Linked DNA regions of Homo sapiens: region 1 is linked to region 2. The links are contacts of gene promoters, found by promoter capture Hi-C in blood cells and fetal thymus (Javierre and others, 2016). All regions are on one chromosome and are shown on one strand. Each heading gives the region's core, a stretch centred on a gene start or on the middle of the fragment in contact. The rest is flanking DNA. Distances are from core to core; before and after follow the strand shown.

Region 1 (2,921 bases), core at 37-2,536, 1.1 Mb after region 2:
AGGACTGGGACAAGACGGGGCACGGTGGCTCATGGCTGTAAACCCAGCACTTTTGGAGGCTGATGGGGGAGGATCACTTGAGCCCAGGAGTTTGAAACCAGCCTGGGCTGCATAGTGAGATCCCATCTCTACAAAAAAAAAAAAAAAAAAAAAAAAAAAAATTACCTGGGTGTGGTGGCTGGAGCCTGTAGTCCCAGCTACTCGAGAGGCTGAAGTGGGAGGATTGCTTGAGCCCAGGAGGTCAAGACTGCACTGAGCTATGATAGTGCCATTGCACTCCAGCTGGGGTGACAGAGCAAGATTTTGCCTCTAAAAAAAAAAAAAAAGGAAAAAAAAACCAAAATGGGAAAAAAAGGTAAACAATTGCTGAATCTGAGTAAAGGGTACATAGAGGTTTCTTATGTTCTTGCTGCTTATCCATAAGTGTGAACTACTCCAATCTGAAAAGGCTGTATGACTTCATCTATGATTCCAACTATATGACATTCTAGAAAAGGCAAAACTATGGAGACAGTAAAGAAATCAATGATTGCTTGGGGTCTGGGGTGGAAGGGAGGGTTGGGGAAACAGTAGCATAGGAGAGCCAGGGTAACACCTTATTTATTTATTTATTTATTTATTGAGACAGAGTTTCACCCTTGTCACCCAGGCTGGAGTGCAATGGCACGATCCCAGCTCACTGCAACTTCTGCCTCCCAGATTCAAGTGATTCTCCTGCTTCAGCCTCCTGAGTAGCTGGGATTACAGGTCCATACCACCATGCCCAGCTAATTTTTGTATTTTTCGTAGAGATGGGGTTTCACCATGTTGGCCAGGCTGGTCTTAACTCCTGACCTCAGGTGATCCACCTGCCTCGGCCTCCCAAAGTGCTGCGATTACAGGCGTGAGCCACTGTGCCCGGCCAGTGTCACCATTTTAAAACAGACTCCATCTTAAAACTAGCAAGGCACATTCCCTGCTGGTCACGGCTCATGGTCATAAGATGTTTACAACTGAAGAAACAGCTTAGTAATGCCTGCAAGGACAAACTCCTCCAACAACAAAATGTCCAGATGTCCCGATCTCTCATAACAATATATGATTTTACAACCATTATAGTCATGCTTTTTGATATACTTACGCACTAAAATGCCAAGGATAATTTTCTTTAAATCAACAAGGTAATAAATTTGTTATGCTGCCAGCCTACTAGCACATAGACACAGCTTAGCTTTTACATAGATAAGACCCTATATTAGAAGAGTTTAAAATAAAGACAGTGCATTCGTCCTGTTGCTTTCTGAGGATGCCCTACTCTGCAATGAAGTAGCTTTCAATACACTATCTCTTCTCACTGTACTCTGAGACTCATCCTTAATTCTTTCCTGTGCCAGATCCAAGAACCTTATCTTGAGGTCTGGATGGGGATCCCTTTGTCAGCAACAGGAAGGAGGGATGACTAAGAAGGACACAGGGGAATTTTTATATGTCACTATACATTTGCCAAAATCCACAGAATGCACAACACAAAAGGTAACCCCTAATATGAACTGTGGACTTTAGTTAATAATGTATCAATACTGACTCATCAATCCTAACAAATATATGACATCAATGCAAAATGTTAACAATAGTGGAAACTGTATGAGGGGAGAGGGGCATATGGGAACCCTATACTTTCCACTCAATTTTTCTGTGAACCTGAAACTGCTCTAAAAAAGAGTATATTATGTACCGACAAAAAATAAACATTAAAAAAAATTAAAATAAGGCTGGGCACGGTGACTCACGCCTGTAATCCCAGCACTTTGGGAGGCCGAGGCAGGTGGATCACTTGAGGTCAGGAGTTTGAGACCAGCCTGGCCAAAGTGGTGAAACCCCGTCTCTACCAAAAATACAAAAATTAGTCCGGCGTGGTGCTGAACTGTAATCCCAGTGACTCGAGAGGCTGAGGCAAGAGAATCGCTTGAACCCGGGAGGTGGAGGTTGCAGTGAGCCGAGATTGTCTCACTGTACTCCAGCCTGGACAACAGAGCGAGATATATATTTTGTCCCTTTTCTATTTATTTATTTATTTATTTATTTTTTGATACAGGGTCTCACTCTGTCACCCAGGCTGGAGTGCAGTGGCACAATCACAGCTCATTGTAGCCTCAACCTCCCAGGCTCAAGCAATCCTCCCACCTCAGTCTTCTGAGTAGCTGGTACCATAGGCATGCGACACCATGCCTGATTAAGTTATTAATTTTTTGTAGAGATGGGTTTTCGCCATATTGCCCAGGCTGGTCTCAAACTCCTGGGCTCAAGTGATACTCCCACCTTGGCCTCCCAAAGTGCTAAGATTACAGGTGTGAGCCACCACTCATGGACTCTTTATTAACAATATACTTCACAATGAAAAAGGGAATACAGTGATCTTCATTCTATATTATACCCTATATACCAAAAAAAATCAGATTGATTATGGAGTTTAAAATCATGAAGCTATATATAAACTGGAAGGAAATATAGCAAAAAAATATCTAAGGTGAGTGCTGAGTGGGCTACAAGCCATTTCTCAAAGCAAAAGCAAAAACCATAAAGGGAGAAAGGTCAATGGACTTTTGTTTGTTTGTTTGGAGACAGGTTCTCCCTTTGTTGCTTAGGCTGGAGTGCAGTGGCACGATCATAGCTCACTGCTGCCTCAAACTCCCCGGCTCAAGCTATCCTCCCACCTCAGCCTCCCAAAGTACTGGTATTACAGACATGAGCCACAGCACCCTGCCGGTCGATGGGCTGTATTACATAAACTGCAAAAAAATAAAAAATACCCCAACAACTGTAGGCTGAAATATTAAATAAAATAGAAAGGCAACATAAAAGCAATCAACTCTCTGGAGAAAATACAGTGTGATGTAAGGGATGTATCTACCTTCTGTGAATTGGACTGACAACACAGAGGC
Region 2 (2,768 bases), core at 181-2,680:
ACTGAGACCAGCCTATCTTCCTCAGCTGAAATAAAATCCACTAAAACAATGTTTTCTAGATCTGTGTCATTCTCTTATACCTATACTATAATACGTTTTTTCCAGATATATGGATCTGTTGGCTATTCTTTCATACTCTCAAAATTCACTTTTTTTTTCTTTTTACAGTTTATTGTTTGGTACAAAACAGGCTCTTTAACTCTTTGAATAAACACCTCACAGACTCGTGCTCCTAGATTACAAAAAGTCAAAGCCAATTTTCTTTGACACTGGGCTCTTGACTCTGAGATTCAAGTCACTATAACAGAAACTGGAGTTGTTTTATCTTATATTCTGGAAGGTGCCTCAACAAAGACATGTTAAGAACTGGTTAAAACTTCTAGCATTTAAAAAGATCCATCTTGTCTTCCAGTGCCTATGGATAATAATAAAAAGGGAATCCCAGAGATCTGCTATTGAATTATTTAGAGAAGAGCTACTGCAATAAGATCCACTCTTTTAAGTTCCAAAAGGAAACTTCAGGCCAGATGTGGTGGCTCACAGGTATAATCACAGTACTTTGGGAGGCCAAGACTGGAAAACCCATTATGCCCAGGAATTTGAATTTGAGACCAGCCTGGCAACACAGTGAGATCCCATCTCTACAATTTTTTTTTTAAACAGAATTTGTGGGGCGCGGTGGCTCGCGCCTGTAGTCCTAGCGACTCGAGAGGCGAGAGGATCGCTTGAGTGCAGGAGTTCGAGGCTGCAGTGAGCTATGATCGAGCCACTGTAGAGAGACCCTGTTTCAAAAGAAAAAACAAAGAGAAAGAAAGAAAAGAAAAAGGAAACTTATAGCCCAGCCAGAGGAGGAAAAACAACACCCAAAATTAGCAAGTGTTCAAGACAGCCCGGCACCCAGCTGAGACTCCCGCTGACGTGATCAGGAGTTCGGGGCTTGCTCTTTTGCCGAGGGTATTTGCTGTCCATGCGTGCCCCGCCCACCTGAGTGCCTCACGCAAGTTCGGTGACCTCTGCCCAGCCGAGAGCAGGGGAGGGTCCCGCGGCCAGGGCCCCGAGCGGCTCACCCTCCACGGCGTGGTTCACCTCTTGGATGAACAGCTGCAGCTTCATCACCAGGGTGGCTGCGTGGCCATCCGCCTTCCCGGACGCCGCCTCCTTGGAGCCGGCCCTGAAGGCCGCATTGATCCACTCCTTCACGTCGAAGTCGTCTGCCAGGAACTTGGAGAAGTCCATGGCGGAACTGCCTCAGGCCTGGCGTCCAGAACTTAAGAGTTGGCTCCGGGCGGCAACGGGGATGCAGAAGCGAGCGAGCCTGCGAGAGCACCGAGGCTAGCCTCCGAGGCGAACCCCAGAAACGCCAGGACGGGTAACTTGCCCCTTTGCGCTTCCCCGCTCAGCGCACTCAGTTTGCGGCTGGGAATGACCCTCGCCGCCCGCCGTTCTTCTTCCGGAAGTCGTTGGCCGTTACCATAGTGACTGCAGGCGTCCGGAGCGCTGAGCAGAGGTGGGTGTGGGAAAACGCCCCGGACTGAGAGCTCCCGGCACCGACAAATATCCCATGTCTGCTAACATTTGCCGAGGACTAAACTATATGCTTACTATAAAGCCCTGACATACATTAGCGCATTTACGCGGTGGCTCGCGCCTGTAATCCCAGCTCTTTAGGAAGCTGACGCGGGAGAATCGCTTGAGGCCAGGAGTTCTAGGACAGCCTGGGCAACAGTGGAGCGCAGTGGGCAGCAATGGAGTGCAATTGAACGATCTCTGCTCACTACAGCCTCAAATTCCTGGGCAATTGAACGATCTCAGCTCACTGCAGCCTCAAATTTCTGGGCTCCAGCGATCCTCCCACCTCAGCCTCCAGAGTAGCTGGGACTACAGGCGCGCGACAACACGCCCGGCTATTTCTTTCTTTTTCTTTCTTTCTTTATTTTTTTCTGAGACGGAGTCTTGCTCTGTCGCCCAGGTTGGAGCGAAGTGACGCGATCTCGGCTCACTGCAACCTCCGCCTCCCAGGTTCAAGCGAGTGTCTTGCCTCAGCCTCCCGAGTAGCTGGGATTACAGGCGCGTGCCACCACGCCCGGCTACTTTTTGTATTATTAGTAGAGATGGGGTTTCACCACGCTGGCCAGGCTGGCCTCAAACTCCCAACCTCAGGTGATCCGCCTGCCTCGGCCTCCCAAAGTGTTGGGATCACAGGCGTGAGTCACCGCGCCTGGCCTAACTAATTATTTTCTTAATGATGTGTTTTGAGGTGCAGACCTTTTAAAGTTTGTTAAGTTCCTTATCACCTTTTTTTATGGATCATGCTTTTGGTGTTGCGGCTGAGAAATCTGTGCATAACCCATAATCACAAACAATTTCTCAGCCTGGGCAACATAGGAAGACCCCGTCTCTGCAAAAAAATTAAAAATTAGCTGAGTGTGGTGGCGCACACCTGTAGTCTCAGCTACTCGAGAGGCTGGGGTGAGAGGATTGCCTGAGCCCAGGAGGTCGAGGCTGCAGTGAGCTGTGATCACGCCACTGCACTCCAGCCTGGGTGACAGAGCGAGACCCTGTCTCGAAAAGAAAAGAAGAAAAGGTAGGGGAAGGTATGAGGGTATTCTTTAGGTTCTAAGTTTTTATGTTGTTTCAAGAGTGGGACCAACCCAAGGGGGAGGACAAGATGTCATCCTTGGAAACCCTACAGGGGACAGTTTTCCAGGTTGGCCTGCCATTGGGGTATGAGTGGCTGGCTGCCATCTCCAGGCCTGATAGTCACTCGT

Evidence for each region. The method cuts DNA at HindIII sites, captures the fragments that hold promoters and counts their contacts. A CHiCAGO score of 5 or more calls a contact.
Region 1: a contact is called between a fragment that was not itself captured here and the fragment with the promoter of COG7 in region 2, in 1 of 17 cell types (naive CD8 T cells). The highest score is 5.1, in naive CD8 T cells.

Annotation. Positions count from the first base shown.
Region 1 is chr16:24,533,351-24,536,271 of GRCh38, forward strand. No RefSeq gene overlaps it. Among named protein-coding and RNA genes, the nearest start is that of RBBP6, 4.8 kb to the right of the region's middle. The HindIII fragment of the contact is 5,139 bases long and covers 1-2,921 here.
Region 2 is chr16:23,451,759-23,454,526 of GRCh38, forward strand. COG7 (component of oligomeric golgi complex 7) reads right to left here and starts at 1,431. Exons shown (of 17, transcript NM_153603.4): 1 at 1,068-1,431. The coding sequence starts at 1,236. It overlaps LOC124903667 (a long non-coding RNA gene), which reads left to right and starts at 985. Exons shown (of 2, transcript XR_007065030.1): 1 at 985-1,507. RefSeq lists enhancers at 1,091-1,420, 1,711-1,760. The HindIII fragment of the contact is 18,303 bases long and covers 1-2,768 here.